2 separate regions of the Homo sapiens genome follow, and region 2 is linked to region 1. Evidence: promoter capture Hi-C in 16 types of primary human blood cells and fetal thymus (Javierre and others, 2016). All regions are on one chromosome and are shown on one strand. Each heading gives the region's core, a stretch centred on a gene start or on the middle of the fragment in contact. The rest is flanking DNA. Distances are from core to core; before and after follow the strand shown. Region 1 holds the start of KCNJ13 (potassium inwardly rectifying channel subfamily J member 13). Region 2 overlaps USP40 (ubiquitin specific peptidase 40).

Evidence for each region. The method cuts DNA at HindIII sites, captures the fragments that hold promoters and counts their contacts. A CHiCAGO score of 5 or more calls a contact.
Region 2: a fragment that was not itself captured here is called in contact with the fragment with the promoter of KCNJ13 in region 1 in 1 of 17 cell types (M2 macrophages); the score reaches 5.2 in M2 macrophages.

Annotation. Positions count from the first base shown.
Region 1 is chr2:232,774,111-232,780,959 of GRCh38, reverse strand. It overlaps KCNJ13 (potassium inwardly rectifying channel subfamily J member 13), which reads left to right and starts at 4,395. Exons shown (of 3, transcript NM_002242.4): 1 at 4,395-4,515. All of the region lies in intron 8 of GIGYF2 (GRB10 interacting GYF protein 2), which reads right to left. RefSeq lists a silencer at 647-941. The HindIII fragment of the contact is 5,243 bases long and covers 938-6,180 here.
Region 2 is chr2:233,515,587-233,522,435 of GRCh38, reverse strand. USP40 (ubiquitin specific peptidase 40) reads left to right here. Exons shown (of 32, transcript NM_001365479.2): 17 at 1,322-1,445; 18 at 2,765-2,822. Among named protein-coding and RNA genes, the nearest start is that of USP40, 48 kb to the left of the region's middle. The HindIII fragment of the contact is 7,221 bases long and covers 1-6,563 here.

The DNA.
Region 1 (6,849 bases), core at 3,146-5,645:
AAAATAAACATAAATAAATAATAAATATTAAAGTCATTCATGGGCAGTTTAGAAGATGACATCTAAGTTCCCTTCACGTCTAAAAATTCCAACAATTCATAGCAACGGAGACTAAAATGAGTGAGAGACAGTTACATGGCCCTTCTCAGCATTCAAAATCAAAGGCTTCCTCCTTCTGTAACGTCAGCACCATGACAAAGTTGACTAACCAAATACTGTATTTCAGTTGACTTACTTTTAAAATCTTAACAGATTTACAAACAAGATGATTTTAAAGTAAACCTTATTGAATTATTTACAAACTCATGCCTGAACCAAATATTCTTAATCTACAGTCAATGAATGAGCTCAGGGCTGTGAATCCTTGCACTGGACATGCACTTTGTGCTGGCATGCTTTCTTCTTCTTTCAGGGAAAAGGGTCTACAGCTTTCGTCAGAATTTTAAAGGTGTCTGTGACCCTCAAAAGGCAAAGAAACACAAATTTTAAATGTATTTTTTTCCATTCAATATAGCAAACATGACTATGAGGAAAACGATATATTTTATGTCCTTACGTTAAAAGCAAATTATGTAAAGGTGCTAAAATACATACGTACTACATATACAATTTCCCCAGTGGCAATAAATACTTGGTTGTTTCAATCTTAGTTTATTAAGTCCAAATAGGATTCATCTAAAAATTAAATTAAATTAAAATGCAGTGTTAGTTTTTGCCTGGTCTAACTGAGTGGACTTCCTAAGGAGAAAGAGCAGTAAAAGGGCACCTGTGTGCATGTTTGACCCACGGCCAAAAATAGTGTTTATGGAAAACTTCAGATGGAGCAAAGAGGCACTCAGCCAACAAAATCTACAGCTGTGAGACTTGGAGCTTACAAGTGCCCAATCTCCACAAGCTCCACAAGCAAAAGTGGAATTATGGGACAGACTTTGAAGCTTGTTTATGTGCAAATTTTTTAAGGAGTGACTTTGTATTACTCTGTTCAGATATATATTATCTGATCAACACCAAAAAAAAATCTAACACCAAAGAAAATGGTGAAAGGGCATCCCACTCAAGTGTTGATATTTACCACCCCTCTCCCCTACAATTACTTATAAACAAAACTCAGGGTGGCTAGGACAGAGCAGTTTAACTTCTGTACCCAGAGAGTTACGACTTTCTCCCTGAGGAATAAATAACCTGCTCAGCTGGTTAACAAGAGTCCTGAAAAAACAGCAGAGACTGGAGAAACTGCAGTGTATCAGAATCTCTGAAAAAGGTCCTCAGGCCATCTGAATATGTACCACAACCCTACAGCCCTCATGCTCAGCTGTCTGCTGGTACATACCCAGAGGCTGCCTGAAATCTGTGGGAAGGCAATTCGTAGTTGGCTTGGACATGTGGAAATGGAAAGAGACTAGGCATCTTCAAAAGAAAGCCAAGTACACTATGTAAGCAAGAACATGGAGACCAGAGCTAACGTTTTAAAGCTGTGAGATTACCTACTTACATAGGCCAGAAATCGCACTCCAACTGAAGATTTTACTGTTCTCAAGAAAAATGTGATACATTTATAGATATATAGTGAATTATTTCAGTCAGAAAGAAAATCAAATGCCTTTAGGGACAGAGGACTAGATTTAATACAGGATAATTAACCAGGTCTTGGTACCTTGTTTAATTTAATCATTATAATTTTGGAGACACAATCCATCAATCTATGAACAGGTATTTACCATTTATGTTCATTCACCGAAGAAATGTTTTAGAGCCATCTCCAATTACCTTACTGTGAAACAGCTACAACAGAAATAACAAATTGTCTAGATGGGAAGGACCATGAGTTTCTGGGTGAAGGTGGCATATCATCTGTGCCAATATCCGTGTCATCTCAGTGAAGGAGCCCCAGGAAACACCACCCCAAAATATACTGCTTTGGTATGCTCATTACTGCAAACTGAGAGAACTTAGGGAACAGCAAGCACAGGGAGGGGCCTTCTCTGATGCCCCCTTATCTCAAAAAATTCCTTTGTCCCCTCCCTAGAATTTCATCAATCAGGGAAGATTAACCTTATCACATAAGAGATTAAAAGGTCTAGTAGCGTTCTTCCTCAAGTTAATTTTCAATACCTGAAAGACTTTATCTCAATAACTAGACAACTTTTGTTCATCATACATTTCCTCCCCTCATTTTCCCACAGCTTGTCAATACCTTCCCCCAGGACCTCCACATCCCTATTCCAATGCTATAAGAACTTCAATCATCTGGTCCTTCCTCAAGTCTCATGTTTTGTGGGACTCTTGTGCATAAGGATGTAAACTGTTTTTCTTCTGTTAAGTCTACCTACTGTTGCTTTATATTATAGACTCAATTATCAAACCTTCAAAAGGAAGAGAGAAGGTCTTCTCTCTCCCCTACACCAGCTAACCTGGTAACTTCAACCAGAAATGACTTTAAATGCTCAGGCTATTGTAATGGGAGAGCTATGCTCCTAAGTGGGCACTTCAGAGCTGGTCTACAATATTCACAGCAGTAGGAATCACTGTTTATAGACCATAGCAAGACTTTCAAATTGTAGAGATCCAGAAATTAGCTTCACTTAAGACATTTCTTTCTTAATTGAAGATCATTTTGCCAAATCATTTTTGTCTCAATATATTGAAACCAAGTATACTATGGAAAAAGACTTTTAAGTTTAATAAAATCCTTAACTGTCTTGCCTACTATAATATGTATTCTCAGGCCAGGTGAAGTGGCTCATGCCTGTAATCCCAGGAATTTGGGAGGCTGAATTGAGAGGACAGCTTGAGCCCAGGAGTTCAAGACCAGCCTAGACAACACAGCAAGACCCTGCCTCTACAAAAAATAAAAAATTAGCCAGATGTGGTGGCATTACTGCAGGGGGTGGGGGATGAGGTGGGAGGATCACTTGAGCCTGGGAGGTCGAGGCTGCAGTGAGCTGTGATCACACCACTGCACTCCAGCCTGGGTGACACAGCAAGACTCTATGTCTAAAAAAAATGAAAATAAAAAATATACAATGTATATTCAAAACACATGACAGATACACTCAAGTGCTTCTGCTTTCTAGAAGCAGTATTATACTATACTTGTTCTAGTATTTTGTTGTTGTGTTGTTCTGTTTTTCTGCAATTTGTTAGCTGGGAATTGATACACATTATAATTCCTACCAGTACATGCAGGGAATGAGCATCACACCACAAATCCTTCTTTATACTTTACCTTCCCTAGTTCTGAAGGTCAGTGTTTCTAATGCTGTGTCTGAACTTGTGTTGAAGTATTTGGTACTAATAAAACAAAGAAGGAATTAATATATTTTTTAAATTGTGGGGCGGGGGGGGGACGGAGAGGATTCTACAAAGGCGGATTTCACTTTCTAAGTAGCATTATATTGGTCTACATTAATAATTTTCCCAGCAGGCCTTCCAAGATTTTACTTTGAACAATCACAGTCTTTGTTTCTCAGATCCTCTTACATGTGACATTTGGTCAAAGTTTTAAAATCAGCAGCTAACGGAGGAGGAGAAAAGTACTGTTCACTAAGGCACTGCACAAAGCCATACCACAGCACGTTTCAGGGTTCCAACAAGCTGGATCACATTTTCCAGCTAAACACTATTTCAATGTTGTGTTACATTTTCTGTACACTGTACACTATGTTTTATTAACACTATACTTCATCACACTGATCAGGAAAACATCTTCTAAACATCATTAAAATAAGCCTTAAGAAAATTCTTCGGTTCTTTCCCACAGGTGTGCATTTTTTAAAGTATCAGGTACAGAACAATTAATTTTATTCCTATTCAAGGTCTTTGTATACAGCCTTTAAAAAAAAAAAGTTTGTTTCCTAACCAAAAAAATAAAAGATTTCACGTAATTATCTATATTACTAGTTCTGGAACTAATGGTAGCCATTCTGATGAGACATGAGAAGAAAACTAAGAAAATCAATGCATTAATTTATGCCTATAAGTCCTTATCCAAATAAATCTTCCCCAAAGACATGGTGGAAAAAAAAAAAGATTAGTAAAGGAAATATCTCACACTTCAACATGCTATATAAGGAAAGACGGCTGAAAAATCTTGCAGGGAATTTTATCCCTTTGAACTTTCAAAAAAACTCTTAAGTAAGATTATGCAAACTTACTAAAGACCGGTCCTGATTAGAGGGAAAAAATGCACCCCTTCTCCAAGTCAGTTCTGGAGGCTTTCTCCAGAGTTGTTAAGGTTTGTGTTGGGTAAAGAAAGACCTCCTAACAAACCAGCATTCTTTTCCACATGATCAGAGCTAATTGGCCCCCCTGCAGGCTAAGTGACCAATCACATCAACCTCAGCTGAAACCAGCCCCCACAACATTATAAACAGAGGAATGTAAGCTGTAAAACCAGTCCAAGAAGAGAACCTACAAACTAGACTTGTAGATTAAAATTATCTGATCAAAAAGGCAGACTCTGTAAATTTCCTTAAGACCTACCTTGGCATAAAGGCTGACCCAGCAAAAGAACTGGTGAGTACATGCAATAATATCCATTCTTCTTTCCTTATGGGAAACAGGGAAAGAAACTGACTGGCAAATAGCAACAGAGCTAGATTACTTCCAACAGATTTTTAAAACAAAGACATTATCTATAGTGTAGGATAGTAAGGTTTCTATATTCTTTTCCCTTAAATCTTAAAAATGCAATAACAGCCATATTGAATGTATTACTGGAAATTTTCTTAACTGTTTTATTAAATGTATACTAATTTTCTATTACAATATATCAGTAGAGGATAAAGGCCTTAGGAAAAAAAATTCAGTGGCTTGAGGAAAAAAAAAGTCTTTTTCTTTTGGAAGGAATTTCAAAAACCCAAAATGAGCATAAAAAAACAAATGCCAAAAGAATAAGCCACTTTGTTTTTACTTCTGTAATCTAAGAAGAAAGTGATGAGTATCCTAATCGTAAATTTTTAAGCATGGAATTATTGCGGAAATTAATAGATACTTCTGCAACTGAGAAATTAAAATAGAATCTCTGAGCTTATATAACAGGGTTAGAACTCAATAGTGTTTGCCCTAATTGTGGAGGGCAGGAGAAATCATTATAAGACTTTCAATATAGTCTTAAAGTATTTACACCAGACATGAACAAATACATAGTAATGCCATCTTCATTTAATGTTTGTTAGTTATAGCCTTTATCTTAACTCCTCAGTATGAACTATACTATTTTTTATCATGGCAACAGAAAATACATACTTTTAAGTGCTACAACCCAATGAGTAGAATGAATTCTGATGATCAGTGAAGCTGCCTATCATTTTTTAATAGGTACTATTTTTCCTCCAAATAATTTATAAATGGGCAAATATTTTACAGCCCACACACAGCAATAGAAGCAAACCTTCCCAACCTTCCACCTCACTTTCTATTGGGATCAGCTGATGAGACTTAAATATCAGGTAACAATAGTATAATTTTTTAAACCATACGAGCAGACATCAAACTATACAGAAATAAAAGAAATCATATAGGAAACTTGTATCCTTTGTAGGAAGTGGAAATATGTTTGTTTACATAAGTCTGTAGAGCTTTAAGAAATCTTATTATCATAATTCCCTCTTTTTTCACTTTCTTTGTTTTAATCTAAGGATGCCAGGCCAATGGGATTGAGTGGTTTGCCCAAAATGACACAGCTATGTAACCAACAGTGCTAGAGCCTGAAGGCCATATCCCCTTATCCTGCGTTCTCTACACTAAACCACACTGACTATAAGAGTCCACAGAATAGTTATTCAGGGTAATTGGTTAAGTGGGAATCAGAAATCAATCTTCCTTCTCTATATTACTCCACTTGCCAACACAATCCAAACCAAATCCAGCAGTCTTAGGTTAAAAAAAAAAAAATGCTGCTTAACTGTTCCGATTATCAGCCTTTTGACTTCCCTGTTCACAGGTTTTTCCATGTATTTAGTTGCAAGAGAAAAAAAATACAATTGTAAAGAGCCTAGAGTAAGAGTGCTACAAAAGTTGTAGGTAAGAAGTAACAACAGTCCTGAAAAAGCCCAAATGAGAATGATGAATTTTGTTAGCTACAGTCTATACAGAAAGGCTCTAAGTAAGGAATTTTAGAACTTTCATAAAATAGGTTGAAAATACAAAAGAATCATGGAGTTTTTTCTTTCTCAAGCTTTTGTGAAACACTAAGCACTTAGCAGCATTCAGTAGGACAGTGGCTCCAAATGTGGAACAAGCACTAGTGTCCAGGAGCATGAGGGGCATTTTCACATAGGCAGGAAGCAACAACAGTGGAGAATGACAAAGTTGTTCACCCACCATTTTGAAGGCAACCAACTATCCTTTCATTGTTATATCCTTCTTCCATGTGTCAAAATCTTTTATTATGTCATCATAATTTTATTTATAATGACAGTATTATACTTGTAAAATTGTCTTCTCATCTGGCAAAACAGAAACTTGGCAATGTTATGTCATAACTCTCCTCTCTACATTGCTTTAATTTTACTGATGTGCAAAACACAACTGGACTATCTAATAATTCAGACTGTGATAATCTTCAAGTCTTGAAAGAAGTCTTTCCTAACTGAATATCTGTTTCTAACCTACAAATAATAGGTCTGAACCCAATAAACATTACTGAAGAACAAACACTCTGGAGCGGCTCTTGAACAAAACTAATCAAATGAAACTGTATTATTCACAAAGGCTAAGCAGGGTCAAACATCTGTTTTGGAGGCAATATGGCACTAACTCTGGACTCAGAATGTATAATATTCATATCCACCACTTACTACCTCATTATACCTCATTTTCTTTCTTTTTTTTTTTTCTTTTAGAGAC
Region 2 (6,849 bases), core at 1,704-4,203, 740 kb before region 1:
TTCTTTCGTAGTACACTTACCACTATTACTCTTTTGGACAGGGGTTTTGCAGACATTCCCTACCTTGTTTATAAGAACTGTATTTCCTTTATAAAAGGCAGTATGCATTTATTGGGACTGGGGAAATACAAAAGTGAAGACAGAAGGGACCCAAAACAGTATCCGTCTTCTCAGCATGCAGTGTTAATCACTGTTAGCATTTGGGTGCCTTTCTTTTTAAACCTAATAATGATTATTTTGTAGATAAGTAGTTGTATCCTGCTTTCCATTACCCCTGCCCAACCTTGAGATTTGTAGACTCTTTATAAACTGCCTTGAATGGCTACATAGTAATCTATGTGACATTATAGTTTGCCTAACTGTGCTCCTAGGCAAGTCAGTAGGCTGTAGTGGGACCTTGGGCAAGGTATTTCGTCTTTCTCTGCTCAGTCTTCTTGTCTGTCAAATAGGGATAATAACTAGTGCCAACTTCATAGACTTGAGAGGATTGAAAGAGTTGAGTGCTTACAAAGTACACACAGTAAGTGCTAAATGTTTTAGTTAATATATTACGGTCATTGTCATAATTATCATACAGTTTTTCACTATTTTAAAGTAGTCTTCATGGAGCATCTTGTGCTTCATACTTTGTTTTATTTGGGATTGCTAGCTTAAGGTAGGAGCTCAGAATGGAATAACTGCAATAAAGAGTAGAATGATGTTTCAGAGCTCTAATGTACATTCCCAAAGAGGACTTCGGCAAGCCCATTAATGCTTCTGTGTGAATTAGAAAGAAGGCACCTCTTCAGGACCCTTTACTACTATCTGTGGGAAAATGTTAGAACAAGATACTCTACTGCCGGCTGCAATTATAAAACAAAACTCTATGTAGAAATGCAGTATACAATATATATGCCATGTGTGACACTCCTTAGATGTGGCCCTTTTGTGCAGTGTCAGTCTACAGACTGCACATGGCTGCCCTGTTGTTAAATGAAATCTAGATCCAGTGGGGTAGGCTCCTGGCATAGGTGCTCTTTTAAAGCTCCCCTAGTGATTTGCAGGGTGCAGGCAGAAGCCAGCAACTGTTTACTTACAGAAGTTCTCTGTGAAAAATGTGGCAACAAATTATGTAGGTAAATCAAAGAATATTTGGAGTCATGAATATAGACTCTATAGACTACTGCCTAACATTACCCTGCAAAGGTAGCCCACTTATCATAGAGACGACTCAGTAGAACTTGGTCACCTCTAATTAGTCACATTAAGTGACACATGCAGAGTTTTGGAAGTGATGCCTAAGGAAAGGTATTAATTTCTGATCTTTTCTTTTTACCTACAGCTTGTTGACCAAGGAAGAGAAATGGGTCACTAGTATGAATGAGATTGACTGGCTCCACGTTAAAAATTTATGCCAGTTAGAATCTGAAGAGAAGCAAGTTAAAATATCAGCAACTGTTAACACAGTGAGTAGAATATAATTAAAGGTTGGCTGATAGATTTTCAGTTAACAGAATTTTATTTAGAAAACAATACCTTAATCTTTCAGAACAGTTGTCTCAATAGACTTCAGCTCTTAGGAAGTCAGCTTTTTATTTAACATTTGATTATTGCTTGTTTACCTATGTTAGCCCTTAGCATATTTCAAGAAAATACGTGCCTTTTAAAATTTCCTCCAAAGCCTAGAATTAGAATGTGGGAGTTACTCATTTAGTTAGTTCATGGAATTCTCTGGCTCCCACAAAATGAAATTCTTTGGCTTCCTTGAAAATGCTGTTTTCAAGGGTCTTTTCTGTATTTTTTTTAAGCCAAGTATACATATGTTTTGGTTTTGTGTTGTGGACTTCTGTTTTTTAAATTTATCTTAAATTGTTTTACATTATACTCTGTTTTTCTGTAAAGCCAGGTGTTCTTAAAAGGAACTCTTTCAGTTCTCCATTTGAAGACTAGTTTCGTTAAACACCATCTCAGGAAATACCTTTTTATATTTATGTAGTCTCAATTCATTATGGGTTTTTTTTCTATAACAAGTTGAAACTTACTAGAATGTTGTTTTCTTTTATATAAATATTATAATTTCTTAAAGTGTGTTAATATTTACACTGTATGATGAATACACTAAAGTTCAGAAGATCTAGTACCTTGACCCTAAGTGAGAGACTTTGGTGAAGTCCTTTATGACTCACTCTGTTTCTTCTTTTCACAATGTGGGGTGCTGTGGGAGGACAGATTGTCTGACATCGGTTTTACTCCTAAATTTACAAGATTTTGTATCCTAGAGGAAATTAGGTTAAACTGAAAAAGGGAAAGAATCTAAAATAAAGTCATTTAAACAGAAATTTTAAATAGTGCACTCGGGCTGATAGTATACATTTTTATTTATGCTTACTGGCCCCACATTCATCATTCCTGACATAGAGAAATGTGATTGCCTGCAGTTTATTTTGTTTGCTTTCATGAGAAAAGTTACTGGTTTGTCAGCTTATTGCCTTTCAGCTAGTTTCTTTAGTTTCTGTAGTTTTCTACAGTTTCTGTAGTTTTCTGTAGGTGTCCTTTCTGTTCCAATTAACATCAATTTGGTAAAAACTTAACTATGAAGTCCTAAGTTTTTGCTTTTGATCTTATAAAAGGATTTCAGGGATGGAAAAATTTCCAGTGGGCAAAAACTACTAAATGTCAGGTAATTAATATCTCAAATAATTTGTTTATGCACACAGTGACAATCCTCATTTTCATCTCCTCCCATTTTTTACAACTTAGTCATTATTTTATTTCTCTGTTTTAGATGGTGTTTGATATTCGAATTAAAGCCATAAAGGAATTAAAATTAATGAAGGAACTAGGTAATCATTTACATTTTCTTTTCGGTTCTTAGTTTAGCTTAATTTTGGTCTTGAATTGAAGAAAATATAGGAGAATACAAAAAACAGTTTAGGGAGAACTCACATACCTACCACCCAAAATGGACAAATATTAACATTTTGTCATATGTTTGTTTTTGTTTGAAACATTATAAATGAAGTTAAAGTCCCCTGTGTTCTCCTCCTCAGACCTATTCTTTCTCTCCTTCCCCAGATACAATGAGTATATCTGATGTGGGTGTGTATCTAGTCCATGTATTCATGTTGTACTATACTGAATGTATATTCTGCAAACTCACTATTCACTTACCATTAGGCTTTCTGTGACAGCCTTATTAAGATATAATCTACATACCATAAAATTCACTCAGTTTAAGTGTTTAATTCAGTAATCATCAGTAAATGTGTAGAGTTCTATAACCATCACCACAATCCAGTTTTAGAATACTTCCATTACTCCAAAAATATCCCTGTACCCATCTGTATTCCAAGCCCCTGGCAACCACTAATCTGCTTTCTGTCTCTATAGACTTTATTTTCTTAATGTTTAATGTAATTGGAATCATAAAACATATAGTCTTTTGTGTCTGGCTTCTTTCACATAGCATATCATTTTTGAGGTTAGTCCATGATTTAGTACGTATCAATAGCTTGTTCCTTTGCATTGCTGACTAGTCTAGTATTCCATTATATGGATAGTATCACATTTTGTTTATCCTGGACAAACATGAATTGATAGACATTTGGATTGTCTCTACTTTTGTGCTTTTATGAATAATGCCACTATGAACTTTTACACATAAGTCTTGGTGAGGAGATATGTTTTCATTTCTCTTGGGTACATGTACCGGATTGGAATTGCTGGGTCATTTGCAAATTTATGTTTAACTTTATAAGAAACTCTCGCACTATTATCCAAAGTGACTGAACCATTTATACTCCCACTAGCAGTGTGTCAGGGTTGCAGTTTCTACATGTCCTTGTCAATCTGTGATTAATTGTGATTATCTTTTTTTTTTTTTTTTTTTTGAGACAGAGTCTCACTCTGTCAGCCAGGCTGGAGTGCAGTGACACGATCTCCGCTCACTGCAACCTCCGTCTCCCAGGCTCAAGCAATTTTTCTGCCTCAGCCTCCCAAGTAGCTGGGATTACAGGCGTGTGCCACCACGCCCAGCTAATTTTTGTGTTTTTAGTAGAGACAGGGTTTCACCATGTTGGCCAGGCTGGTCTCAAACTCCTGACCTCAGGTAATCTGCCCACCTCGGCCTCCCAAAGTGCTGGGATTACAGGCATGAGACACTGAGCCCAGCCATCTTTTTTTTTTTTTTTTTTTTTTTTTTTTTTAGAATCTGTTACTGGTTTGGTTTTGACTTTTAAAAAAAAAAACATATTTTGAGCACATTTTTTATTGTTATTTTTTCCATAGGTTATTGGGGTACAGGTGGTGTTTGGTTACATGAGTAAATTCTTTAGTGGTGCTTTGTGAGATTTTGGTGCACCTATCACACGAGCAGTATACACTACACCCTATTTGTAGTCTTTTATCCCTCATCCCCCTCCCACCCTTCCCCCCAAGTCCCCAAAGTCCACTATATCATTCTTGTGCCTTTGTGTCCTCATAGCTTAGCTCCCACGTATCAGTGAGAACATACGGTGTTTGGTTTTCCATTCCTGAGTTACTTCACTTATAATAATAGTTTCCAATCTCATCTAGGTCACGGCAAATGCCATTAATTCATTCCTTTTTATGGCTGAGTGGTATTCCATCATACACACACACACACACACACACACACACACACACACACACACACCACAGTTTCTTTATCCACTCATTGATTGATGGGCATTTGGGTTGGTTCCATGATTTTGCAATTGCAAACTGTGCTGCTATAAACATGCATGTGCAGGCCGGGCACAGTGGCTCACGCCTGTAATCCCAGCACTTTGGGAGGCCGAGGCGGGGAGACCACAAGGTCAGGAGATCAAGACCATCCTGGCTAACATGGTGAAACCCTGTCTCTACTGAAAAATACAACAAAAATTAGCCAGGCGTGGTGGTGTGCGCCTGTAGTTCCAGCTACTGGGGAGGCTGAGGCTGGAGAATGGCGTGAACCCGGGAGGCAGAGCTTGTAGTGAGCCGAGATCGCGCCACTGCTCTCCAGCCTGGGTGACAGAGCGAGACTCCGTCTCAAAAAAAAAAAAAAAACAAAAAACCATGCATGTGCAAGTATCTTTTTTGTATAATGACTTCTTTTCTTCTGGGTAGATACCCAGTAGTGGGATTGCTGGATCAAATGGTAGTTCTACTTTTAGTTCTTTAAGGAATCTCCACACTGTTTTCCATAGTGGCTGTACTAGTTTATGTTCCCACCAGCAGTGTTGAAGTGTTCCCTAATCACCATATCCACACCAACATGGCCATTCTACTGAATGTGAATTAGTATCTTAATGCATGTAAATTTAGCAAGAACTCAAAATCATATACAGAAATTCATTGCCTTTTTACCTACCAGCAACAACAACAACAAAATCGACATCAAAATTAAGAAAACATTTATAATAGCATAAAATATTATGGGATACTTAGACATAAATGAACAAAATATGTGCAAGACCTGTACACTAAAAACTAGAAAATACTGCTGTGAGATATTTAAGAAGACCTGAATAAATAAAGCAATATACAACATTCACAAATCAGACAACACAATATTCTTTTTTTTTTTTTTTCAATTCGAGACGGAGTCTTGCTCTGTCCCCAAGGCTGGAGTACAGGGCAGCAATCTTGGCTCACTACAACCTCTGTCTCCTGGGTTCAAGCGATTCTCTTGCCTCAGCCTCCCGAATATCTGGGTTACAGGCACCTGCCACCACGTCCAGCTAATTTTTCTTTTTTTTTTTTTTTGAGATGGAGTCTCGCTCTGTCACCCAGGCTAGAGTGCAGTGGTGCGATCTTGGCCCACTGCAACCTTTGCTTCCCGGGTTCACGCCATTCTCCTGCCTCAGCCTCTCGAGTAGCTGGGACTACAGGTGCCCGCCACCAGGCCCGGCTAATTTTTAGTGGAGACAGGGTTTCACCGTGTTAGCCAGGATGGTCTTGATCTGCTGACCTCGTGATCCGCCCGCCTAGGCCTTCCAAAGTGCTGGGATTACAGGTGTGAGCCACTGCACCTGGCCAGATGATACAGTATTCTTAAGAGGATAATTCTTCCCCATTTGATGTGTAGATTTAATATATTCTTACACAGAATCTTAACATTTTTTAAAGAAATTGACAAGCTGACTCTACAATTTTCATGGAAATACAAATAATTTAAAGTGGCCATAACACTTTTGAAAACAAGAGAACAAAGTTGGAAGAGTTACACTATCTGATTTCAAGGCTTACTCTAGACAGTGTATATTGGCATACAGGTAGACATATAGAGAGGAGGTCAGCAAACTATGGCCTACAACCTGTTTTTTTTCAGCCAGTGGGCAAAGAATGGTTTTCGCACTAGTAAAGGGCTGTTTAAACAAGAAGCATGTGCAACAGAGATCACATGTGGCCCGTGAAGCCTAAAATATTTACAGTGGAACTCAGAGAATCTAGAAATAGGTGCGTAGTCATTGACTTTCAACAAAGGTGCCAAGGTATTTTCATGCAGAGAGATAGCATTTTTTCAACAAATAGTGCTGGGCCATTTAGATATTTGTATGTGCAGAAATGAACCTCAAGCTTTACTTCGCCTGATGCAAAAATTAAATGGATCATACAACTAAAAGTTAAAACCTAAAACTACAAAATTTCTGGGAGAAAACATATGAGGAAATCTTTGTTACTTTATCATAAGGAAAGGTTTTTGTATTAAAGATAGGACTCAAAAAGCACAAACCATGGAAGAAAAGCCTAATTAATTTACATTAAAATTTTAAACTTCTACTCTTCAAAAAGCATTTGAAAAGGCAAGCCACAAACTGGGAGAAAATATTTATGAAACACATATTTGACAATCAACTTACATTC